Regions from separate parts of the Homo sapiens genome. Here region 1 is linked to region 2. The links are contacts of gene promoters, found by promoter capture Hi-C in blood cells and fetal thymus (Javierre and others, 2016). All regions are on one chromosome and are shown on one strand. The core of a region is centred on a gene start or on the middle of the fragment in contact, and the rest is flanking DNA. Distances in the headings are between cores, read along the strand shown. Region 1 overlaps LOC102724687 (a long non-coding RNA gene). Region 2 holds the start of DNAJC5B (DnaJ heat shock protein family (Hsp40) member C5 beta).

Region 1 (5,660 bases), core at 1,456-3,955, 380 kb before region 2:
TGGTTTTCAGATTTGAGCGTGCATGAGAATCATAATGGTACTTATTACAAGAGTTGATCTTATTCCGATTCGGGGGGTCTTCAGAAATGTTTTGTGAAACATTACTTTAAAATGAAAGAATGGGAAGCATCATAGGGTGAGGTTTTGACTGGTTTCTTTTATAAATGGTCTTATTCATACTCTTCAGAAGCCATTCCTTCAGCTACAAAATGTTAAGCTTCCTTGAAGAAGGAAATTTGGTAAATAATTTTTCAGGTGATGACAAAAAGAGCCCTTTATTCATCTGCTCATGATGACTCCAAAGTTTATACTCTTGGCCCAGAACTTTTGTTTGAGCTCTAGGTGTATATATCCAACTGCCTACTGGATATCTCTGCTGGAACGTCTGATAGAAGTCTCCCCCTTCATGCAGCCATACCATAATCCTCCCTCCGAGTCCGCTTCATCTGTGGTTTTCCCTGTTTTGTCAATGGCAACATCATTTTTCCAGGGAGCCAAGCCAAAAAACTTGGAGTCATCCTTGATTCTTTCTTTTTTCATTCCCCATATCTAATTGGCCAGCAAATTCCTTTGCTTCTATATTCAAATATATCTAGAATCTGAACATTTCCCCCACCTTTTGCGATATCCTGGTCCATGCTTTTAGCCGTCTTTCACCCGGGTTGTTGGAGTTTTCCTAATTTTTTGCTTCCATTTTTGTTTCTTTATAGTGTGTTCCCAACACAGCAGCTAGAGTATCCTTCTAAAGTTAAAGTCACATCCTATCTCTCTTCTCTTCTGCCCTAAGCCCTGCCATGGCTCCTCATGTCACTCAGAGTGACAGCCAAAGAACAGAGATTGACTTACACGGTTCAAGATCTCTGACTTTTTCGGGCGTGGTGGTGGGCATCTGTAGTCCCAGCTACTTGGAAGGCTGAGGCAGGAGAATGGCGTGAGCCCGGGAGGCGGAGCTTGCAGTGAGCTGAGATCATGCCACTGCACTCCAGCCTGGGCAACAGAGTGACTCCGTTAAAAAAAAAAAAAAACTCTGACTTTTTTTTTTCCTTTTCAGAAACAGGGTTTCATTCTGTTGCCCAGGCTAGCCTCAGCCTCGTGAGTAGCTAGGACTACAGGTACACACCACCACAAAACACCTGGATTTTTTTTTTTTTAATTTTCTTAGAGACAGGTTCTCATTCTGTGGCCGAGGTTGGGCTCAAACTCCTGGCCTCAAGCGATCCTCTCCTGCCTCAGCCTCCCAAAGCGCTGGGATTATAGGCATGATAATCCCATGATAATTACAGGCCATGCCTGGCCACTCTCTGACCTTTTCTTACACCTCCCTCCCACCTACTCACTCTCCTCTAGGCTCAGTATCCTCCTCACTATTACCTGAAGCCACAGGCTCTTTGCACGGGCTGTTCCCTCATGGTCCTAGCTGCCAGGAGTGCTTGTTCCTGGGATATCGGAATGGCTCCCTTTCCCACCACCTTCAAGTTCTGGCTTAAACACTGCCTTCTCTAAGGGCCAACTCTTAACTCCTTTAATTAAACTTTGACCCCCTCCCTACTTGCCCCTCTTCTGCACTGTGAGACTGCCAATCTCCTCTGCCCTGTTTGATTTTCCATAGCACCTCTCCCTGCTAACATGCTGGATTATTAATTTAATTTTTTCATTGATGGATTGGTTTAGTGTTATTTATTTTTATTTCTCCCACAGTAGAATATAAGTGCCACAGGAAAGCAGTTTTTTTAATCCATTTTGTTCATTGATGTGTCCCTAGTGCTTAGAAAGGTACTTGGCACATACTAGGTGCTCAACAAACATTTGCTGAGTAAATGGGATGAAATATTTATGAAGTGGTTACTAAAAGTCAAGCACTGTTCAAAGTTCTAGGAATATAGCCATGGACTAGACTGTCCCTTCCTTCTGAGAGCTGACATTCCTAGTGGGAACTAGTTGCAAATGACAGAACTGCAGAGTGGATAGCACTTTGTGTTGAGAATGCAGCATGGTGGAGCTGGTAAAGCAGCCACAGCAGCCAGGGATACAAGAGAGCACTTAGTAGTGGCCCTAAGCAAGAGACAGAGTGGATTGCAGAGGGTAGGGTGTGCAGGAAAGGTAAAGCTTCCAGAAAACAGAACACTTCACAGTGTTCAAAAGTACAGGAATTACAGAAAAGAAGAGTGAGCATGAAGAGTAAAGAATGTGCAGGAGAAAGAGAAAGAAAACTTACATAAATAGCATATAATAAAAACTCTAAATAACAGTGGCTCAACCACACAATTATTTATTCTCCCACATAAAAGAAATCCATAGGAAGGAGCGAAGTCTTGGATGGAGGCTTCATGATTCTGTCCCATCATCCTCAGCGCATACCTTCTATCCTCAAAATCACTTCCCAGGAGACAAAGGAAAGGCAAAAGATGCGCATCGCCTCACTGAGGCATCGTCCAGAACGTGCCACAACAGTTCTCACTGAGTAGAGCTCAGTCACATGGCCACACCTGGCTGCAAAGGAATATAAGAAAAGTAGTCTTTTCATCTGAGGCATTGCCACTACAAATATCTCTGCCTTAGGAATGTATGAATAAATTACAGTTCATTTAGAAGAGGACCCGAGATTGAAACACAGTGTAAAAGAGCTGAACCAAGACCCTGAATTAATCATACCAGGGAGGAAGGATTGATGGTTAAAATTTTACTATCTGCATAATTTATCATTAGCTCTTTCTATAAAAATAAATTTTACTGTGTATATTTTAGATATATGTATACAAATGTGTACACATATGTATATATATACACATATATATGGTAGAATAAATTAACATATTCATTATCTGATATACTTATGCATTTTTCCCCCTGTGGCAAGAGCAGCTATCATCTACTCATTTAGCAAAACTCCTGAATACAATACACTACTATTAACTACAGTCGTCATCTTATACACTGGATCTTTTGGCTTGTTCATCTTACTTGCTACTTTGTATCCTGTGACCTACATCTCCCCATTTCCTCTCTCATTAGTTTTTTATATTTAACCGACTGTTTAATATGTATATTTATAATTTCATCCCTAGTGTGGCTGTTTTTCAGTATCTTTTTTGTTTCAAGCCTCAGTATAAGAACATCAATCATGTATTATCTAAAATAGAAATACCCAAATCTGGTCCTCTGACTGATGGGAAACAAGTATATGGGTGTTGAGTGGTGATTAGCAGGGAGGGAGATTTCATAGTTACAAAATTGATGACTCCCAGAAGGGACAGTTAGAGTTAAAAATGAAAGAATGCTTTGGTAGTTATCTGATGAAAGCTTCTGATATGGAACATTGGCTTTATGAAACTAAGACAATTTTGTTGTATCTTTCAGACCAAATTTTGAGAATCTTTTTTTTTTTTTTGAGACGGAGTTTCATTCTCATCACCCTGGCTGGAGTGCAATGGCATGATCTTGGCTCACTGCAACCTCTGCCTCCTGGGTTCAAGCGATTCTCCTGTCTCAGCCTCCCAAGTAGCTGGGATAACAGTCTCCCACCACCATGCCCAGCTAATTTTCGTATTTTTAGTAGAGATGAGATTTCACCATGTTGGCCAGGCTGGTCTTGAATTCCTGACCTCAGGTGATCCGCCCACCTTGACCTCCCAAAGTGCTGGGATTATAGGCATGAGCCACAGCACCCAGCCAAGAATCTTTTAAAAGAGGATCAGGAGTCATTTAAGTTTTTAAAAAATATTTGTATTTTTTAAAAAATGTATTATTATTTTTATTTCCATAGGTTATTGGGGAAAAGGTAGTGTTTGTTACATGAGTAAGTTCTTTGGTGGTGATTTGTGAGATTTTGATGCACCCATCACCCAAGCAGTATGCACTGCACCCAATTTGTGGTCTTTTATCCCTCACCCTCTGAGTCCCCCAAATCCACATGTTTTTCTTATGCCTTTGCATCTTCATAGCTTAGCTCCCACATGTGAGTGAGAACATATGCTGTTTGGTTTTCCATTCTTAAGTTACTTCACTTAAAATAATAGTCTCTAATCTCATCCAGGTTGCTGTGAATGCCATTAATTCATTCTTTTTTATGGCTGAGTAGTATTCCATTTGAGTAGTATTCCACAGTTACTACTGAGTAGTATTCCACAGTTTCTTTAGCCACTCATTGATTGATGGGTATTTGGGTTAGTTCCACGTTTTTGCAATTGCAAATTGTGCTGCTACAAACATGTGTGTGCAAATATCTTTTTCATATAATGACTTCATTTCCTCTGGGTAGATACCCAGTAGTGGGACTGCTGGATCAAATGGTAGTTTTACTTTTAGTTCTTTAAGGAATCTCCACACTGTTTTCCATAATGGTTGTACTAGTTTACATTCCAGCAGCAGTGTAAAAGTGTTCCCTGTTCACCACATCCATGCCAACATCGATTTTTTTTTTATTTTGGCCATTCTTACAGCCAGCTGATCTTCAACAAAGCAAACAAAAACATAAAGTGGGGAAACGACACCCTATTCAACAAATGGTGCTGGGATAATTGACAAGCCACATGTAGGAGAATGAAACTGGATCCTTATCTCTCACCTTATATAAAAATCAACTCAAGATGGATCGATGACTTAAATCTAAGACCTGAAACTATAAAAATTCTAGAAGACAACATTGGAAAAGCCCTTCTAGACATCGGCTTAGGCAAGGATTTCATGATCAAGAACCCAAAAGCAAATTTAATAAAAACAAAAACAAATAGCTGGGACTTAATTAAACTAAAGAGCTTTTGCACTGCAAAAGGAACAGTCTGCAGAGTAGACAGACAACCCACAGAGTGGGAGAAAGTCTTCACAATCTGTATATCTGACAAAGGACTAATATCCAGAATCTACAACAAACTCAAACAAATTAGCAAGAAAAAACAAACAATCCCATCAAAAAGTGGGCTTAAGGACATGAATAGACAATTCTCAAAGGAGGGCATACAAATGGCCAACAAACATATGAAAAAATGCTCAACATCACTAATGATCAGGGAAATGCAAATATTTGTATTTTAAACAAAAAGGAATAAATGCACAGTGAAAAGTAAGTCTTTTTCTACCCCAGGCCATCAAATCCCTAAACCTCTAGGCTTCTAGTGCCTCTTCCCAGAGCAACCTGTCTTACTAGTTTCTTGTATAAGGAATCATATAAAGCTGGTGAACCACATGAAAATGAATGCTTGCTTCTTATTATCCACAGTATGAACTTTGATTTGCAGGGATTAACAGGAAGAGCAAGCACAAATAGGACCATCTCTAGAAAACCCCTCCTTGATTATCCCAGGCAGATGTTCTCAGTGCCTCCCAAGCTTCTTCATGGCTTAAAAAAATTGTACTGAAATCCATAACATAAAATTTACTATTTTAATTGTTTTTAAAATGTACAGTTTAGTGGCATTACGTATGTTCTCATTGCATAGCCACCACCACCATCCATTTCCAGAACGTTTTCATCATCTGAAACAGAAATCCTTTACTCATGAAACAATAACTCCATATTCCCCCTCCCTCATAGCCCCTGGTAATGATTCTTCTACTTTATGTCTCTATAAATGTGACTATTCTAGGGATCTCATGTAAGTGGAATAATACAATATTTGTCCTTTTGGGCCTAGCTTAATTAACTTGGCATAATGTCCACAAGG
Region 2 (6,344 bases), core at 2,937-5,436:
TACAACTATCTGATCTTTGACAAACCTGAGAAAAACAAGCAATGGGGAAAGGATTCCTTATTTAATAAATGGTGCTGGGAAAACTGGCTAGCCATATGTAGAAAGCTGAAACTGGATCCCTTCCTTACACCTTATACAAAAATCAATTCAAGATGGATTAAAGATTTAAACGTTAGACCTAAAACCATAAAAACCCTAGAAGAAAACCTAGGCATTACCATTCAGGACATAGGCGTGGGCAAGGACTTCATGTCCAAAACACCAAAAGCAATGGCAACAAAAGCCAAAATTGACAAATGGGATCTAATTAAACTAAAGAGCTTCTGCACAGCAAAAGAAACTACCATCAGAGTGAACAGGCAACCTACAACATGGGAGAAAATTTTCGCAACCTACTCATCTGACAAAGGGCTAATATCCAGAATCTACAATGAACTCAAACAAATTTACAAGAAAAAAACAAACAACCCCATCAAAAAGTGGGCGAAGGACATGAACAGACACTTCTCAAAAGAAGACATTTATGCAGCCAAAAAACACATGAAGAAATGCTCATCATCACTGGCCATCAGAGAAATGCAAATCAAAACCACTATGAGATATCATCTCACACCAGTTAGAATGGCAATCATTAAAAAGTCAGGAAACAACAGGTGCTGGAGAGGATGTGGAGAAATAGGAACACTTTTACACTGTTGGTGGGACTGTAAACTAGTTCAACCATTGTGGAAGTCAGTGTGGCGATTCCTCAGGGATCTAGAACTAGAAATACCATTTGACCCAGCCATCCCATTACTGGGTATATACCCAAAGGACTATAAATCATGCTGCTATAAAGACACATGCACACGTATGTTTATTGAGGCACTATTCACAATAGCAAAGACTTGGAACCAACCCAAATGTCCAACAATGATAGACTGGATTAAGAAAATGTGGCACATATACACCATGGAATACTATGCAGCCATAAAAAATGATGAGTTCATGTCCTTTGTAGGGACATGGATGAAATTGGAAACCATCATTCTCAGTAAACTATCGCAAGAACAAAAAACCAAACACCGCATATTCTCACTCATAGGTGGGAATTGAACAATGAGATCACATGGACACAGGAAGGGGAATATCACACTCTGGGGACTGTGGTGGGGTCGGGGGAGGGGGGAGGGATAGCATTGGGAGATATACCTAATGCTAGATGACACGTTAGTGGGTGCAGCGCACCAGCGTGGCACATGTATACATATGTAACTAACCTGCACAATGTGCACATGTACCCTAAAACTTAGAGTATAATAATAAAAAAAAAACATTAAAAAAAAAAAAAAAAAGAATCCTGAAACTAAAACTTCTTTTATCCCTCTGTTTTTCACAATTAGCTTTCTTCTGCAGTTATACACTGTAGTGTGTGTAAAATTACTCAGTATATTACACAACTTTTAAAATTAATAAGGAAGCTGAAAGTTATTACAACAACTGTGTAAAGCCTATGCCATGATGGAATGCTCTTTCTTATGCTCCTTCTTGTTGGTAATTGCTTCATAATTATCTTTTATTAAAGGCAACCTGCATGTAATACCAGAAACATATGGAAAATCCTTACAGGAAGTACACATTTTAGTTGGCTAAAAAACAATCTAATGGCCTAGAAAATACTTACCAGACATCTCTAAGGTTAATGATGGCGCTGATGACTATAAAAGTTAGGTCTCTATTTATATTTAAAAATTCTTCATTTCATTTCATTTTCTTTCAGAATTTGGATCTTTGGGCTGATATTAGTACATTTGCAATAAATTTAATTGGAAAAACGCTGACTACCTGCACCCAGGGACTGCCTGGGCTCAAACTTGCAGATTAATTACGGATGCAAGACATATATAGCTTCATGTATGTCAAACCCTGGACAAGTCTAAGGAGGCTCCTCCTACACTATCATGTTAATTCCAAATAGAATATTAATTCATGGGATAAGTCACAGAAGGCTCATATAGAAGATATATTAGGTAAGTAAGTGTAGGTCGGATACCACGGATGGATGTAATAGCCAGCCCCACACCTGCCAGATAAAGTGTTTACTCATCTGTACATTCAAGGGTATACACACACACATTCATAAACAAAGTATTATCTACCTAAACAGGAAAAGACAAGGCCACAGGAAGACCGTATATTTATTATAAAGTAAAAATCTGGTAAATTGTATACATGTTTTTTTAAGAAAAAAAGGATTACTTCTAATCAGCCCTCAATTTACAGTAGCTAGTCAATTTCCCTGGTTTTATTTTCACTGTTATCTCAGTGTTTTGAATGGGGTCTTCAGTGCTTTTTCTTGTCATTGACCAAAGCTTATCTTGTATGGAGGTGCAGAGGCTAGGAGAATATCTGCTTTTACCAATAACCACACCAAGGTGATAAATGAGATTTCCTCCTTTTAGAATATTCTAACTTAGAAAATCAAAGAGTTAGTTCAAATATGAACCAATACATTCATTCATTGTGGGGCAGAGTGTATTGGAGAGGCCACCAGGCTAAGAGTGAGGGGGCTTAAACTTTAGTCCCCAGCACTAACTAGCTTGATACCCTTAGCTGAGACACTTCTCTGTGTGGTTTCTCCTGGAAACGAAGCTGTGGAATGGATGATCTTCTAGTTCCCCTCCGACTCTAAAATTCTGCAGTATGCGACAGGCTGCAGCAGCATGTGACTAACACAAGGATCAGGGAACGTTACAGTCAACAAATGCAAATGGAGATGAGTTAGGACATTCTGTGTTTTGTGGGTATTATCTGAGGTTCAGCTTAAACTTAGTTTTCAATGGCTATCAATGAAGGAAGCCTAAAAACTGGGCCAATGAGATTTTAATGTTCAAGTCTTAAGTGGTTATGATTAGATCATAACCTAATTGTGAAAATCACAGTGACTTCTGTACAGAAGTTGAATGTGTGCTATGAAGTTTATGTGCAAGTATATTTTGCTTTTATCTGGATCTCTCAGTTTTACATGCTTTGGGGACTATTACTACTTTCATAGAGTGTGAGAGTATTGACCTTACTGCTGTGATATATTTATTCGTGATGTGTTGGAGGCCAAGGAGAGTTAGAGTTGTGTCCTGTGGATAGAGAATCCATCTCCTCCTCTTCTTGTCGATGGCTGTTGGGGTCCCCTGTGGGTAACTGACCTACCTGTCAGAACATGGACTCTTACTCCCACTGAGGGAGCATCGCCATCAACTCTGACCTTGCAGGCAGAGCTCAGCGTGCCTGCCTGAGCTGTCCTGTGCTCCAACTCCGGGGTCGCAGTGTGCTAAGACCCAAGGGAGTCCACATGGGGATGAGTCAGGGCCTGGCGCTGGCCCCATGCTCCGCCCCACTGGTAAACAGAACAGTTCTTTGCCGTCACTCAGAGCCTCTCAGGGCCCCAAGACTCCAGGAAGAAACAAGTATTGTAGAAGCCAAAACCCCAAGGCAAGGTAAAGAAAACAGAACTGTCCGCATCCCCAGCAATGATTTCACTGGCAGGAGTTGCTGGGGGCGGGGTGGGGGGTCCGGTATATGTTCCAGCAGAGCTGTTTTACTTACTTCTCAACCAAAAGGCCCTTCTCTTTTACTCTTTATAGGGGTATCCTTTTGCCTTTCAAGATTTGAACTTTCAAAACTTGACCTTAGAGTCAGTCTTGCTTGCTAACCCATAATACAACTTTGCACCTTTTATTACTTTTGTTTGTTTTTGTACTGGCTTCTATTAAAATACTTCCTTAGTTAACTTATTTTTGTTTACTCTACCCTGTCATCCGGGGAGGAGCTATTGAAAGAAAAAAACCTCTAAATAGAAATATATCACCAGCAGCACAAGTGGACTACAGCCTCGGAAATGTCCTCACCGTCCGGCTTCATGGCAAGCAGCCTGGCTGTTGGCAAGATGCGCCCAGCTCTGCTTCTGCTCGTGTGGAACCTTACATTACCCTAACGCAGCTGGGGCACAAGCCGTCTGTGCTTATACTATTCTTCTTAAGCTTGGAGACACACTCACCTTGAGATCTCTCCTCTTTTTCATCTAGACACTGGCAAGTCCTGTTCTGAGCTTAGCAATGCCAAGTACCTGAACTGGAGGCATGGCTGGCTGATCCCTTCTAGCTCCCTCCAGTAGTGTCCCACCTTGGCTATATCAGTAACTGCGCCTCCTGTTATTTCTCCTTCCCAGTTGTCAAGGTCAAACCTGGGCTGGATATTGTGATGTCACAGAGTGGAATCCTCACTCCTCCAGATGGTCCAGCTGAGGCCCTCTTGGACAACACTTCCTCTCCTGCCCATGGTGGGAGGTTGGGAAGGACATTCCCCCATTTCCATTTGCTCTGCCATTCAAAACCTTGTGAGGGCCCTCAGGGAAGAATCCCTTTGCAGGTCATAAACTGACCTGCAGAATTATGGGATCTTAACTGTGGGGAGAGACCTAGAAGACCGGCTAGTGACCAGATTCTCATCTAACTCCTTTTTTTTTGCAGATGAGGAAACTGAGGCCCCACGTGGTGAAGACAATTTTTACCCGAATCCACCCACAACAAGAGACCATTTGGATAATGTACATTATGGGAAGAGAACAGAGTCTCAGTGAAGATCATGTTTCCCCAGCAACACAGGTGCCAGGAGTAGCTGGCTCTGGTCCCAGCCCAGACTCAGAAATCCTGAGCCACCAGACCATTTCTAGATTAACAAGTAAGGTGACTTCTGAGCAACTAATGTTTTCATTGAGATTTGATGATAAGCAGCAAAGCTCAAATGAAAGTCCAGAGTTAGTGTTGGCAGGGCGAGATGGCTCATGCCTGTAATCCCAGCACTTTGGGAGGCTGAGGTGGGAGGATCACTTGAGCCCAGGAGTTTGAGACCAGCCCGAGCTATATAGTGAGACCCTATCTCTACAAAAAATACAAAAATTAGCTGGGCGTAGTTGTGCGTGCCTGTAGTTCTAACTACTCAGGAGGCTGACAGGGGATGATCGCTTAAACCCAAGATATCGAAGCTGCAATGAGTTGAGATTGCACCACTGCACTCCAGCCTGGACGGCAGAATGAAACCTTGTCTAAAACACACACACACACACACACACACACACACACACACACACACACACACACACACACACAGAGTATTGATTACAGCGCTATACCAGGTTCTAGTGTTGAGTAAGGGACAGGGAGGAGCAATCTGTAAAGAAATAGAGTCTCACTGGAATTTCATTCTTCATTATTTCATACCCTTCACTTTTTCTAGACGCTAACCCCATATGATACTAAAAAGTATCTGTATTGCATCAGACGACGTATCTGTGAAGTCAGAGAATTGTGCTTTAAGAATCTCTCAAGAGGAGAACATATATTGGGCTTTCATAATACCAATAACATTTTACATCATGCTTCATTTACAAGCTATTTTCACACATATCACTCTATTTAATCTTCACAACTTGGTGAGATAAACAAAGTATTATTTTCAGTATAATTTTCTGGATGAGAAAATTATAGCTTAGAGAAGTTGTGTCTTGCACGAGATCACAAAGCTAATTAAGTGGAAAGGTTACTTAACATTAACTACAAACCAGATCTTCCACCAAGCCTTTTCCCCACCACAGGGCTTTGCTGGTTGGGGAGAAATTGTCATTTGGTCCCAGAACACACTTGAAGGCCACTGCCTTAAGCAACCCTTTGAGTAACAAGGAAGAAAGTATTCCCGTAGGTCATAAATACTGCTTTACTAACTTCCTAAATGTCTTCATAAAATCTTAGGGAAATGGTTAATGGACACTAATTTTAAACTTTAAAATAATATAATTATTGCCCTTTCTTCCAACAATTCCACATCTGTGAATTCTCCTAAGAGAACCATTATGGATATGAAAAATATTTAGCTACAAGAGGTTTTTTGAAGCACTGTTTATAACAGAAAACAAATATAAAGCTCAGCATTGGAAAAGTGGTAAAATGGATTATGCTGAACTCATGAAAATAATGTCAGGGTTTCCCACACTTTGATTATTCATGTGGCATCTTCAGAATATTGCCATCTGCACTAATATTTACTTAACATTTTCCTTTAAATTAATTCATACATTTTACTGGAATAAAATTATTTAAAGGTATTTTTTATTATTAACATAAGTAGAAATACAGTATTAATTGCCTTAAATGTCAGATGACAATAAAAACAAATACAATGAAAACAAAGTAATGTTATTAATGCATGAATTTGGTCCCAATACCTTGAAGAAAACATATGACTGATTTAATAAAATCACAAGTAATCCCTTTTTTTGCCATCACAAACTTCACCTTTCTGCATTAAAAAAT

What was found. The method cuts DNA at HindIII sites, captures the fragments that hold promoters and counts their contacts. A CHiCAGO score of 5 or more calls a contact.
Region 1: a contact is called between a fragment that was not itself captured here and the fragment with the promoter of DNAJC5B in region 2, in 1 of 17 cell types (endothelial precursors). The highest score is 6.1, in endothelial precursors.

What each region holds. Positions count from the first base shown.
Region 1 is chr8:66,395,797-66,401,456 of GRCh38, reverse strand. The region is part of intron 1 of LOC102724687 (a long non-coding RNA gene); the gene reads left to right. Among named protein-coding and RNA genes, the nearest start is that of RRS1-DT, 30 kb to the left of the region's middle. The HindIII fragment of the contact is 1,194 bases long and covers 2,109-3,302 here.
Region 2 is chr8:66,019,395-66,025,738 of GRCh38, reverse strand. It overlaps DNAJC5B (DnaJ heat shock protein family (Hsp40) member C5 beta), which reads right to left and starts at 4,186. Exons shown (of 6, transcript NM_033105.6): 1 at 4,034-4,186. It overlaps LOC105375883 (a long non-coding RNA gene), which reads left to right and starts at 4,258. Exons shown (of 7, transcript XR_929008.3): 1 at 4,258-4,315; 2 at 4,506-4,716. The HindIII fragment of the contact is 2,733 bases long and covers 4,019-6,344 here.